5 separate regions of the Homo sapiens genome follow, and all the other regions are linked to region 5. Evidence: promoter capture Hi-C in 16 types of primary human blood cells and fetal thymus (Javierre and others, 2016). All regions are on one chromosome and are shown on one strand. Each heading gives the region's core, a stretch centred on a gene start or on the middle of the fragment in contact. The rest is flanking DNA. Distances are from core to core; before and after follow the strand shown. Region 1 has its middle 22 kb from the start of RAB32. Region 2 has its middle 73 kb from the start of RAB32. Region 3 has its middle 100 kb from the start of RAB32. Region 4 has its middle 56 kb from the start of RAB32. Region 5 holds the start of GRM1 (glutamate metabotropic receptor 1).

What was found. The method cuts DNA at HindIII sites, captures the fragments that hold promoters and counts their contacts. A CHiCAGO score of 5 or more calls a contact.
Region 1: a fragment that was not itself captured here is called in contact with the fragment with the promoter of GRM1 in region 5 in 4 of 17 cell types (endothelial precursors, M1 macrophages, M2 macrophages and 1 more); the score reaches 7.4 in endothelial precursors.
Region 2: a contact is called between a fragment that was not itself captured here and the fragment with the promoter of GRM1 in region 5, in 2 of 17 cell types (endothelial precursors and monocytes). The highest score is 5.9, in endothelial precursors.
Region 3: a contact is called between a fragment that was not itself captured here and the fragment with the promoter of GRM1 in region 5, in 2 of 17 cell types (M0 macrophages and M1 macrophages). The highest score is 6.5, in M0 macrophages.
Region 4: a fragment that was not itself captured here is called in contact with the fragment with the promoter of GRM1 in region 5 in 3 of 17 cell types (M0 macrophages, endothelial precursors and M2 macrophages); the score reaches 7.8 in M0 macrophages.

The regions. Positions count from the first base shown.
Region 1 is chr6:146,520,790-146,523,572 of GRCh38, reverse strand. No RefSeq gene overlaps it. Among named protein-coding and RNA genes, the nearest start is that of RAB32, 22 kb to the left of the region's middle. The HindIII fragment of the contact is 6,008 bases long and covers 1-2,783 here.
Region 2 is chr6:146,469,441-146,472,157 of GRCh38, reverse strand. No RefSeq gene overlaps it. Among named protein-coding and RNA genes, the nearest start is that of RAB32, 73 kb to the left of the region's middle. The HindIII fragment of the contact is 1,210 bases long and covers 648-1,857 here.
Region 3 is chr6:146,439,369-146,442,098 of GRCh38, reverse strand. No RefSeq gene overlaps it. Among named protein-coding and RNA genes, the nearest start is that of RAB32, 100 kb to the left of the region's middle. The HindIII fragment of the contact is 1,212 bases long and covers 829-2,040 here.
Region 4 is chr6:146,486,612-146,489,468 of GRCh38, reverse strand. No RefSeq gene overlaps it. Among named protein-coding and RNA genes, the nearest start is that of RAB32, 56 kb to the left of the region's middle. The HindIII fragment of the contact is 495 bases long and covers 1,076-1,570 here.
Region 5 is chr6:146,027,735-146,030,434 of GRCh38, reverse strand. It overlaps GRM1 (glutamate metabotropic receptor 1), which reads right to left and starts at 1,373. Exons shown (of 8, transcript NM_001278064.2): 1 at 218-1,373. The coding sequence starts at 917. RefSeq lists enhancers at 554-1,054, 1,055-1,555. The HindIII fragment of the contact is 3,742 bases long and covers 1-2,700 here.

The sequences.
Region 1 (2,783 bases), core at 280-2,779, 490 kb before region 5:
CAGGCACACACCACCATGCCCAGTTAATTTTTGTATTTTTAGTAGAGACGGGGTTTGACCGTGTTAGCCAGGATGGTCTCAATCTCTTGACCTCGTGATCTGCCCGCCTTAGCCTCCCAAAGTGCTGAGATTACAGGCGTGAGCCACCGCACCCAGCCATGCAATACAATTTCTTAACATGTAGTCTGCCTGGAAACTCAATGTGCTGCTCATTTGTTCAAGTTTTGAAATGAGGTCACTTGGAACTAACTTGTTTTGCCTTTTGCTTTTGATTGGACTCTGTCTTAATATTTATTTATTTATTTATTTATTTATTTATTTTTTTCTCAAAGTCATAACTCACAAGAGTTACCTTTTATGTATTCCATAAAAATACACTTTTTTTTTTTTGCTATCCCTCCCCCCTCCCCCGACCCCACCACAGTCCCCAGACTGTGATATTCCCCTTCCTGTGTCCATGTGATCTCATTGTTCAATTCCCACCTATGAGTGAGAATATGCGGTGTTTGGTTTTTTGTTCTTGCGATAGTTTACTGAGAATGATGGTTTCCAATTTCATCCATGTCCCTACAAAGGACATGAACTTATCATTTTTTATGGCTGCATAGTATTCCATGGTGTATATGTGCCACATTTTCTTAATCCAGTCTATCATTGTTGGACATTTGGGTTGGTTCCAAGTCTTTGCTATTGTGAATAATGCCGCAATAAACATACGTGTGCATGTGTCTTTATAACAGCATGATTTATAATCCTTTGGGTATATATCCAGTAATGGAATGGCTGGGTCAAATGGTATTTCTAGTTCTAGATCCCTGAGGAATCGCCACACTGACTTCCACAATGGTTGAACTAGTTTACAGTCCCACCAACAGTGTAAAAGTGTTCCTATTTCTCCACATCCTCTCCAGCACCTGTTGTTTCCTGACTTTTTAATGATTGCCATTCTAACTGGTGTGAGATGATATCTCATAGTGGTTTTGATTTGCATTTCTCTGATGGCCAGTGATGATGAGCATTTTTTCATGTGTTTTTTGGCTGCATGAATGTCTTCTTTTGAGAAGTGTCTGTTCATGTCCTTGGCCCACTTTTTGATGGGGTTGTTTGTTTTTTTCTTGTAAATTTGTTTGAGTTCATTGTAGATTCTGGATATTAGCCCTTTGTCAGATGAGTAGGTTGTGAAAATTTTCTCCCATGTTGTAGGTTGCCTGTTCACTCTGAGGGTAGTTTCTTTTGCTGTGCAGAAGCTCTTTAGTTTAATTAGATCCCATTTGTCAAGTTTGGCTTTTGTTGCCATTGCTTTTGGTGTTTTGGACATGAAGTCCTTGCCCACGCCTATGTCCTGAATGGTAATGCCTAGGTTTTCTTCTAGGGTTTTTATGGTTTTAGGTCTAACGTTTAAATCTTTAATCCATCTTGAATTGATTTTTGTATAAGGTGTAAGGAAGGGATCCAGTTTCAGCTTTCTACATATGGCTAGCCAGTTTTCCCAGCACCATTTATTAAATAGGGAATCCTTTCCCCATTGCTTGTTTTTCTCAGGTTTGTCAAAGCCTTTGACAAAATTCAACAACCCTTCATGCTAAAAACTCTCAATAAATTAGGTATTGATGGGACGTATCTCAAAATAATAAGAGCTATCTATGACAAACCCACAGCCAATATCATACTGAATGGGCAAAAACTGGAAGCATTCCCTTTGAAAACTGGCACAAGACAGGGATGCCCTCTCTCACCATTCCTATTCAACATAGTGTTGGAAGTTCTCGCCAGGGCAATCAGGCAGAAGAAAGAAATAAAGGGTATTCAATTAGGAAAAGAGGAAGTCAAATTGTCCCTGTTTGCAGATGACATGATTGTGTATTTGGAAAACCCCATCGTCTCAGCCCAAAATCTCCTTAAGCTGATAAGCAACTTCAGCAAAGTCTCAGGATACAAAATCAATGTGCAAAAATCACAAGCATTCTTATACACCAATAACAGACAAACAGGGAGCCAAATCATGAGTGAACTCCCATTCCCAATTGCTTCAAAGAGAATAAAATACCTAGGAATCCAACTTACAAGGGATGTGAAGAACCTCTTCAAGGAGAACCACAAACCACTGCTCAATGAAATAAAAGAGGATACAAACAAATGGAAGAACATTCCATGCTCATGGATAAGAAGAATCAATATCATGAAAATGGACATACTGCCCAAGGTAATTGATAGATTCAATGCCTTCCCCATCAAACTACCAATGACTTTCTTCACAGAATTGGAAAAAACTACTTTAAAGTTCATATGGAACCAAAAAAGAGCCCACATTGCCAAGTCAATCCTAAGCCAAAAGAACAAGGCTGGAGGTATCACACTACCTGACTTCAAACTATACTAAAAGGCTACAGTAACCAAAACAGCATGGTACTGGTACCAAAACAGAGATATAGACAAATGGAACAGAACAGAGCCCTCAGAAATAACACCACACTTCTACAACTATCTGATCTTTGACAAACCTGGCAAAAACAAGAAATGGGGAAAGGATTCCCTATTTAACAAATGGTGCTGGGAAAACTGGCTAGCCATATGTAGAAAGCTGAAACTGGATCCCTTCCTTACACCTTATACAAAAATTAATTCAAGATGGATTAAAGATTTAAATGTTAGACCTAAAACCATAAAAACCCTAGGAGAAAACCTAGGCAATACCATTCAGGACATAGGCATGAGCAAGGACTTCATATCTAAAACACCAAAAGCAATGGCAACAAAAGCCAAACTTGACAAATGGGATCTAA
Region 2 (2,717 bases), core at 3-2,502, 440 kb before region 5:
TGAACAAATGACAGGAAAGAAGAATCAGTGGGAGGAGCTCTCTTTCTAATTTCTCTAAGACATTACAAAACGAGATCACTTGTAAATCTAAAGTGCAGGCTCCAGCTCTTTGTCTTTAAACATTTTTAAGAGTGATGTATATTTAGGAAACTTGCTTCTATTCCTGCCCTTGGATTCTTATATTTGATTTTACCCATAAATTATGAAGAATGCATCTTAAAATTTTATTGAACAAAAAGAATATATTTTTACTAGAACAGTGCATTAAATAAAGTCTTCTTGATTGATACGACATTAATAAACCTGAATCTAACATACCTTTGTCTATTTGAATATTTCCTTCAGATGCCTACATGTTAGAACTGCTGTAAAATTTATTTTTTTCCTATTCTATTCACTTAAATTGTTTTTATCTCAGGCAAAACACTTGGTGAGTTCTCTGACCTTGAGCCACTTTCCTGTTTATTTTCTGAGTTCTTGTGAGGTTCAAGTGGGATAATGTATAGGAAGATGTTTTGTCCACACTGTGAGGCATTCTTTTTGCTTTAGGAACATCAACTGTGATTTCAAAGATATGAGCACCTAGCAGTTCTGTTTTCTCAGCTCTAATATTTTAACTCATTTTTCTTTTTCCATTTTGAAAAGCTTTAGTGCCACCCTGGATTTATTTGTTGCACTTATTATTTCAATAAAATTCATTTAGGAAATAGTTTTCTTTGGATGGCACTTAAAAAGAGATTTATGACTTTGATTTTCTAGATTCATTTTTCAGAATCATAGACACTACATGGAGAGATTGTTTAGCTTCCACTAAGTACCTAGTGTTCCTAAGGTAGCTTTTATGGAGCTGATTAGCCAAACTTAGACCCAAGAGACCAAAGGGAGATCTAACCTTCACTCCATTCCGTTCTTTTCTAAAGCTCTGAAAATAAATGTAGTTGGATCCTGGTTTTATTCCATCTGGTCCTCATGCTAACATGATTGCAGTCTCTGGGATATAGGCTTGAGAATAATTTCCCACCTGCTGAGAACACAGTGTCAGAGAAGGTGGAATATGGATCTGTTGAATATTTCCTTCTGGAAAAACTATTCTATGCTCTTCTAAGATTTGTTTCTGAAATGTCCAACTCAGTTGGCTGGAAACACCGTGTAGAGGATGAATATTCTTTCCTGACAATAGCCATCCATTTATATGTACCCAGGAATGATAGGATATTAGAATGAGAAATTAAGGAAGGGACAGTTTTGATATGCACGTGTATTAGCTTGCTAGGGATGCTGTAACAAAATAACACAAACTTGGTGGCTTAAACAAATAAATTTATTTTCTCACGGTTCTAGAGACTAGAATTCCAAGATCAAAATGTCAGCAGATTTGGTTCTTTTTGCAGCTTGCAGGTGGCTGCCTTCTGGCCATGTCCTCACATGGTTTCACCTCTGTGAACACTCATCTCTGATATCTCTGTGTGTTCAAATCTCCTCATAAAAACATCAGCTAGAATGGATTAGGGCCTGCCCTAATGACCTCATTGTAACTGAGTCACACCTATATGCAGTCACATTCTGAGGTAGAAGGACTTAAATCTATGAGTATTGAGGGTGACGCAATTCAGCCCATAAACAGCATGCAAATAGCTCAGTACTAGGTATTGTGATAAGGCATTTTGTCATTTAATTTTTAAAGCAAGCTATCAAAATAGGCTCTATTATTTTCCCCACTGTGCATGTCAGAAAATTCATACTAAGTGAAGTTAAGATGGTTGATGTTGGTAAGTTGGTGGAGTTGAGGTCTTATGAATGGGAAAATGGCCCCTGGCATCAAAAGAAATGTGAGAAAATCATAAACCCGAGGAAGCTTCTGTCCATGAATTGCGTAACATTTCAAGAAGGTAAGGAAACAGGTTGGACTTCAATTTCACATCAGTGTAGTGAGACCTTTCCTATACTTTTGAGTTTTCCAGGATCTCACTCCAGAAAAGCTGAGTATGCCAGAATGTATCCAGAAAAGGCTCCTCTAATTCAGACTTAACTTTGTCAGTGCTTTGCATTTAATGGGTCTTCTTCAGAGGACTGGCCTTGGGCTACTGGACTCATTTCTAGGTCTCACAGATAGTAAGAGTACCTGGGAGTATATGTTCCCTCCACCCAGGGTTGCTCACCTGGCAATGGCTGACTAGAGCGTAATCAGGAGGACAAGCTCCTCAGTGTAACTTCCCTTGGAAATTCCCCTGGGAATCAGATTGAGGCTGGGACTTAGCTGGAAATTTCACCCTTGCTTGGTTTCTTCTCCTTTCCTGCTCTGCTTCCCTGGTCCATGTCAGTTTCCCTTTGTGGCATATTCTTAGTAAATTACTTGCACAGAAATCTTTGACTCAGGGACTAATTCTGGGTAACCGAAACTAAGGCACTTTCTGTGGCTAAATCTTATTCTAATTTGCTTGAATTCTTTCGAGAAAACCAAGGATTAAATCAAATCTAAATACTGTGATGGAAAAGAACAGAAAACCTGGGTTTAATTACTGGCTCTGCCATGTATCAGCTTAGTGATTGGATCCTTCATCACTCATTCCAGTGCAAAACACTGAAAATCAAATCAGTCAGACTTAAAAAAAATACAAAGGAGTTTGTTCATTTATCTAACCTCAAATCCAGGAGTAGCTCTGACTTTCAGCGTGACTGATGTTAGAAGAAATTTGTTTCATCACTTTTGACTTCTA
Region 3 (2,730 bases), core at 185-2,684, 410 kb before region 5:
TTTCCCTTTCCCTTTCCCTTTCCCCTTTCCCCTTTCCTCTTTCCGGTCTTATCCTGTAACTTCACTTAGGCTGCAGTGTAGTGGTGTGATCATGGCTCACTGCAGCCTCATACTCCTGGGACTCAATGGATCCTCCCATGTCAGCCTCCAGAGTAGCTGGGACTACAGGTGTGCTACCGTGCCTAGCTAATTTTTTTTTTTTTTTTTAGAAATGGGATCTCTCACTTATTTCTCATGATTCTTTTTTTCTCCTTCTTTCACACCATCTGTTGCCCCTCTCCATAATCTGATTTCCCCAGGACACTACTGCCTATTGGCTATGGTGCTATACATTTGAACCTCAGTTAGGAACCAGGTATGAATTATTTCCCAAAGCTTTCCTGGATTCTGTGAGAGAGGGAGATTTGTCTAACTCCATAAGTGGGTGATTCCTCAGATCTGATCAAGTGGAGACTCCTGCTGTAGGTCACAATGCTAAATGAAAAAAAAAGAGCAGAAAACCCAATTATCGGGTTGGTGCCAAGGTAATTGGGTTTTACCATTAAAAGTAATAGCAAAAACTGCAAACTGCAATTACCTTTGCATCAATCTAATATAAATGAAAGCTGATTCTAACTCTGTTAAAATGAGACTTATATGAAAGTCACTGGAAGGAAAAATAAAATCTACAATGTCAATGTTTGGATCATGTGACTATAGGTTTTTTCTTTAATTCCCAGTTGTCTACAATGCATTTTATTACTTTTGTAATAGAATAATGACTAAATTTAAGGAATCATTGCATGGAAGTAATCCAGAATCTAACAACACACTTATTTAAAGCAAGCTTTCACTTTAATTTTCTTTTGTGATTTTCCTTGCTATGAAGAAATAGTAGTCTCTATGGGTGATTCTAGAAGTGCCTGTTCCCACTACAAATGATTAGATATACCTTTGCTTTGACTTCTTCAGGTCTTTGTTTTCACGTCTTTATCTATAGTGTTATCTATGTCTGTGGAAATATCCCCCCACTTTCTCTCTTTCTCTCTGTCTCTCTGCACTCCCCCGCCTCCACCTTTCTTTCTCTCCATAATCACATCTGTATCTAGTATGCTATTGCTCTGACCACGTCCCCTTGGTGCCTACCTTCCTCACACAAACCAACATTAAAATGTCCAACCTCCAGCATCTGCAACTCTTTGCCTGAGGGCTTTCTCTGGAGACAGGAGCCTGTACTTGGGACACACAGGGAGTAACTAGAAATTGACATGTACCTCCCTCCCCAGCAACGTTCAGCCATGATTGACAGGAATTGCTCCAATTGCTACCCTCAATTCTCTTGCCCCACGGGGAGTGAGGACACTTGTGAGGCATGTTCTCCACTGTCTCCCAGAGTTCCCAGCAGGACTGAACTCCTGTTTCCCACAGCGGCAACCCTGCATGATAATGTCCCTTTATTGCCTGCATATTGTTTGCTGCCTCTTGCCCGCTCTTCTACCAGAGCTTCCAGGGATCGCTTCCCCAGTACACAACTTGTGGGCAAGTGCTCCTCTCAGGGTCTCTTTCTGGAGAAATTCAACTTAAGAAAAGGTTCATATTCATATCCAATTATTGCAATTCATATAAAAATGGCTTCAGGGTTATAGCTGGCTCTGAGCTAAGTGTGAGCTCAAAATGTGGCAAGACTGCAAACAAAGTAACGTAAATTTAGGCAGAAATAGGAGAATAATGATTAAAGAGAGTCAAAGTATATGTGTGGTATTGTGTCCAGTTCTGGATACAATATGTTCTTAAAGCATATTCAAAAATTGGGATATGATCATGGCCTGATTAGGGGGTTAGGAAGACAATAACAAAGGTAATAATGGAAAGAAGCGATTTGTCTTGGAGCATAAACTGCTAAAGAATGACATAATCACTGTATTCAAGTAGCTGAAGGGAAGTCACGTGCACAGTGGACTAAATTTGTTCAGTGTTTTTCTAAAAGGCAGAACTCAGGAAAAATTAGAGAAAAGCAATATTCAACTCAGGAAAGGAAAGAATTTTCTAACAAGTAAAGCTTTCCCTTATCAAATATAAGATTCTAGTCTCCAGAAATACTTAGGCAGAGGTGAAAAAAAGTCACCTAAATCTATCCTGACCCTTAAAATAAACTCTGGTTACATATGTAATCCTCTGAAAAGCTCATTTTTGTCACCAGCATTTTATCTGCAGAATTTCATAGCCTACCACCCTGTTGCCTGCCTTGATGATTTTTCCTTGTAGATTCCCTGGTTCCTGTCATGCCTCCATTCTGGATTTGGGCCTGAGTTCTGTTCTCTGACCAGCATTCTGGTTTAGCAATGTGGTTTTGGACTTCTTCTCCCAGTGTCTAAGGCTCTCTGCCTTCTCCTTTGGCACAGCAACTGCAGGTAGTTGGCCCTGTACCCAGCCCAACCCATCAGTGGTGGCTTCTCGCTGTCTAGGAAGAGGAACAGAACACAGGAGAATGGAATCCTAAACAGGGTGAAAGTTTATTTTAAGTGACTTCTAAGTTTACTTCCAACTCTAAGCCTCTGTCACTATTTTCCTTTTTGATTTTTGTGATCTTCATTCTTAAGCTTTGTTTCTCTTGTTTATTAACTAATAAGTCTTTCTTCCCAAGCTGCCCTGGGAAAATCAAGCACAAAATCAAGGTTTCTGGTGTTATTAGTTCAAGTCCCTACCTAAGCTCTTCCTCTCCCTCATATTTCTCCAACTCTTGGTAACTGG
Region 4 (2,857 bases), core at 74-2,573, 460 kb before region 5:
TGTTATTGTTTGGGAAATGATTTGGCTACATTGTATAAAACACATTTAGAGTAACTGTTACTGGTTTATATATGGCTCATTTCTACTTTTCTATTGTGATACACTTTAGAAAAAAGTCCTTCATTATATAGGTCTAAACTTCCCCCCGCTTTTTCCTGTCAAAGAAGGAAGGAAAGAGAGAAAGCTGAAAAGACAGAGAGAGCTAGAGAGAGAGATGGATTCACAGATTCCATCTATTATTCCTTTCTTTAATTTCTGTAACTGAGTATAGGAGAATAAGTGTCGTTCAAGTCCCTCTTGCTAAATGGGTATCGTAGTTTGAGAGCATTTTGGAATTTTCAGGACCCTCGTGCTCTGATATAAACTTGAATATGCAAAGGCCATGACATAGGGAAAGAAGAGGTTCAAGAACAGACTAGAGGATATAAAATACACTGACAAAATATAAAAGCCAACAGGTGAAGTGGAGCAGACAACTGCTGGCATCCATGGGGAAATAAGCTGTGAATGACTCAACAGGAGGCCAAGATTCCAGTTATATCTCAAGGAGAGAAACGGGATTTTAAAATAGTGGACACAGCCGTTGACCTCACCTACTCCATCCAGCCACATGCTTGGCTGATCTGGCCTCTGGTGAGACCCCCGTCACTCCCTTCCTAGAGTGAGTGGTCCTACCGAGTGCAGATTTTTCTCTGACAGTGGAAGTACCCACACCTTAGTGCTCTGTTTCACTGCCAAACACAAACTATTTTTTTAAATTATTTTTTCCAAAGACAACTACAACTCTGTCAGCTTTTTATCCAATAAATGGTCTGAAACAGGAAGAATCTATTATTTCCCTTATGAGTTTATCAGTAGAAAAGATATAAAGCAATCCAGCTGTGCAGAAAAGGGCATAATCTGTTAATATCACCCTGAGTGAGAAAAATACATGCCATGATACCAAAAACGTGTTTGCCATTTACCTAGTCTTGAACATAGTATAGGAGACTGGATTATCTGTCAATAATCTCTGAGTCTGAATTTGTTAGAGCCCATTGGGTCATGCTTGAACAATCTTGCAATCCTAGAAGCTTGTCTATTGTTTCTTGTAAATCAAGATAAATAGAATATCCATATTTCTTAGAGACAGGAAGTTTTGTTTTTAGACTCAGCCATAAAGTACATAGACAATAAACAGTACTTTGGAAGAATATAAATAAGTATTTAAGTGGCATGAATGGTAGGGTAGAAGAAAAATATTGCTGTGTCAATTTTCATCCCAGAAAGATCAATAGGTAATTAAGGCTGCATCTCAGCTCCTTATAAAAACACATAATTCATTTAGTGCCTCTAATTCTCAATGCTCTACTGGTTGCTCTGGAGAATGAAATTCTCTCTTTGGACTTAAAATTAAGAAACTAGAAACAAATCATAGTTTTTATTAAAGTATGACCTGGATAGAATTCCTTAGGGGTCGTGTTAAAAATGCAGACTCCTGAGTCTTGCCCTCCGTCCCTCCCCACCCCAAAATAATTCAATGGCAGAAACTAACTTATAAAGGAAGAGATGACAATATCTAACACAAGCTTCCTTAGACACAATATTCCTTGAATATTCCTTAATGAGACTGGTCTCATTAACTTATTCATTCAGCGAATGTTTATTGAGTATATAGTAAATTCCAGGTATTTTTAATCCTGGGATTTAAATGGTTCCTGCTCTATAGAACCTCAGAGTTTCTTGATAAGGAGACAGGTCAAATTAGTGCCATAAGTAGTAAAACAGAAATATCCCCCAGGCTAAGCTGGACCCAGAGTAGTGGTGGATAAAGAAGAGATGTCAGCTTGATGGAGGAAGATGCATAATCTCCAGTAAAAGAAAAAGTTAAATTGAGAGAAAATCAAAGGCAGAAAGGCCAGTCAGGAGATCATCAGAATTAATCAGGAGAGATGTGGGCATTGAGAAGAGGAGACACATTTCTTTTCTTTTTCATTTCAAAATAGATGTCATCATTCCTTACTGAAATTGCTCCCTGCTTCCCTCCCCCAAACACAGATACATACACACAGGCCACCATCACTCACAGTACACTATCATCCTGACCCAGCCAAGGGTCCAAGTTCTGAGCCCATGACCATTTTTGTTACCTATCCCTCCGAGTTTCAGTGGACCAGAACTCAGTTATAACAAAAAATGTGAGAGAAACCACATAATAGTCAAAGATGAAACCACGACAGTTTCATAGAAGCAGAATTTTCAACAAAAGCAAGACCTAACAGTAATTTTTGGAATATAGTAACAATGCAAGATAAGCAGCAATGGAAACCATGGCCAAATCAAGACCATTCCGTTAATATTCATTGTTCCTTTCTTCCTTCTTTCCCCTTCTTTCTCCTCTCTCTCACGCCCTTGCTTCCTTTCTTGACACAAGCAGAACAAGTAATGGTGGGTGGTGCCAGGATGGGGGTCAGAGATGGGAGATGAGGGAAGTCTGATAAGCTGAGACATGGGCAACATAGGAGATTGGGCAAATAAGCAAAGAGGTTGAAGATGTTGGGGCTAGGCTTATCACCAATGAAGGAGCGAATATAAGTATGGAATAAAGGAAGATCTGAGTGAACTTAAACTCTGTAGTGTAGACTGCTAGAAAAGATTTAATAGAAAATCTAAATAAAAGGTACAAGTCAAGCAGCGAGACTCGCGTATCAATTAACATACCTAGCACCCAGACTTTGATTTTTAGATAGTACTCTTCATTTAAAAAACCAAACCTTCATAGAGAGATGCTTTATGCAGGGCTGATAAGTAAAGTAGAAAATATTCTTGAAACATCTGGTTGTGCCACAAAGGAAGACAGTGCTGGAAGAATGAAGGA
Region 5 (2,700 bases), core at 124-2,623:
CTATTATCCTCAGATATTCTATGGGGTACAATTTTCCTACACTATAATTGTAAGGAAATGAGGATAAAAGGCAATGCCTGGGTGGGCAGTACTGAGAAGGGTAAACTCCGTTCCCCACAGTGCTAGAAATAAACAGGAACAATACTATGATCCCAGGAGCACATCATGCATTGCCCTGACTTTCTCAGTACCCTTCTTTCCCAAATATAATGCCTACCTTCCGTGTGGACTGCAGAGACATAGGTCCAATTGTAACGTTTGACTATGTCAAGCATGGCCCTTGCCTGCAAAGTGTCAGAAGGGACAACCCTCAGGAAGTATTTGTACAAAGTTTTGTCACTCAGGTCGATGCTTGTGGCTGAATAAGCGATCTGGGGGATGTCGAAGAGCTGGAGCAGGTTCTGCACTTGAATGGCTACAGAGCTGGAGCCGGGACCGATCACTCCCGCAATGGGCTTCTTAGTCCTGCCTGGGGGGAGGGACTGGCCGTCAGGCAGACACCGGTTGATCCCATCCTTCTCATCTCGAATGGAAATCAGAGAGTCCCTAATGAACTCAATGCTCTGTTCCAGAGCCACGGAAGAGTGCCAGCAGGAGTCCCGGATCTCACTGCCCAGGGTGATGTTGGGCAGGAGGACCGGGTCCGCGTTGATCTTATCCAACGTGTGGAACATGGCCTCCACCCTCTGGATGCCATACTGCTCCCTGATCTCCCCACACTTCCTCTCGGGCACTTTCTCGGCCGGAGGCTGGTGATGGACTGAGAAGAGGGCTCCAATGATGACATCTCCGTCCATTCTGGCCACCGAGCGCTGAGACGACGCTCCTGCCAGCAACACTTTCCTGCCGGGGCTTCTGGGGAGAAGGGACACCTCCAAAAAGATCGCTGGGAAAAAAAACAAAAGGAGCCCGACCATGGTGGTGAGGACGAGGTCCACAGCCTGCCAGCCGCGTTCCCACGCTGGTCCCGCTGCAGGCTCCCGGCGCGCACCCCCAAGACGCCCAGCGCCGCCTCTCCCGGAGTGGTGCCCCTCGCCAACAATGGTCGTCCAAGGCCTTTGCCTCCTCCACCACCGCCTCCTTCCCCTTCGTCTCCTCCTCTGGGTCCTCCACGACCGCCTCTACAAGCTGGAGGCGTTTGTAAGGGAATTCGAGTCCCCGTTCTTCACCGGTAGTGCATCAAGGTAAATTGATCAAGAGTACAGTGGAAGTCGTGTTGGCAGCGGTGAGCTAGATGCTGCTGACAAAAGACAGAGAAAAATCACAACCTTGTCATCAGAGGACCTGTGTTAAAACTCTGGGGTCTATAATGTTAACAGTTGCCTTGTCCGTTTCATTTCGGCACATCCTGATATCGGCTGCAGGAACAGCTTGGAGCGCAGCTGTGGTCACTGAGGAAGGCGGGGTGTCCTGCCCCCTCTGTCCTCACGGGTCCAGGCGGCGCAGAGCCCCGCCAACTCGCCCGCTCCTCCAACCTTAAGTCGTTTCCTGGTCCCCTAAAACCTATCATGCTTTCTAACTTGGAGGGCGGTGGGGAAGGTGAGCAGAGAGGAGGGGAGGAGCTAGGTCCTTCAACCCAAGAGAACTTTCCGGATTGGAAAAGATCAACTTTTTTTCAGAAGAAAATTTGGAAACTCATTGTAAAGGTGGAAGCGCGACTTTAAAATAAACGTAAACAAAGGATGCACCTTTTACTTTAATTTTGAGGGGTTGAAGAAGCCCTGACATAAAATCAGCTGTAAATATAAATTTGCCAGCTTGAAGAAAATCCACATTAGTTACTAAGGCAACGCCTGGTAAAGTCTCCGTATGGAGGAGTTTGGTATGTTTCCCCCGTAAGAAGTCAGGCTTGCTGTGTATGTTCAAGAAGAAGGGGTGCAGATAAGGTAACTTGTTTCCCGCGGTGGGTGGACGGGTTAGGGGGGGTCCTGCGCTTGCTTTGGGGTTTGCATAGTTGCTAGAAAGGGAACGGAGGGGAGCTTCCGGGTTGCTCTCGCCGCGGCAGCCTGAGCCCTGCCGCCTTCAGGACCCTGGACAGTGCTCGGTCCAGCCAGACATTCCCTGGCAGGGCCTGCAAGGGACGCTTTGACCAGTGAGTTGCAATTCCCTGACCCGCTTTGCTCTTTCAACCTCCCTCCTCTGAGTTCTTTACCCATACACACACACACACACACACACACACACACACACACACACACACACTCCCTTCCACTCGAGTCCCCACCGCCCCTCCGCCCTCATTCTCATCACCTTGCACCGCTTGTGCAGGTATATATCCAAACCCACCCGCTTGGGGACAGAGGCGCCAAATCTCAGCCGCCTGCGGGGCTGAAGTTGGCTCCCTCTCCCGTTCCTCCCCTGCTCCTTTTCTCAAGGTGAGAGTCGACGAAAAGGGGGCTATGGGAGCGGGCGAGGAGAGCACAGGAGGTGAGGCAGAAAAAGGAGAAAGAAAACCCAGGCACCCATTGGTCCCGACTCTTCCTGAGGATACAGGACGAAAAGAAATACATAAGCGAGAATGCGCCTGGGACCCGGAGGAAAATCTGATAGACTGGGACTTTGTCTGCCGTTGTGGGTGGGTTTCACCGGAGGAAGTGTCCGCTCACCTGAGTCTGTTTGGAGGACATGGACTTGAGACATACCTGAGTACCTGAGTCGGGGTAGACAGCGCTATGGTCCCGGGGCCAGAGGACCGTGGCC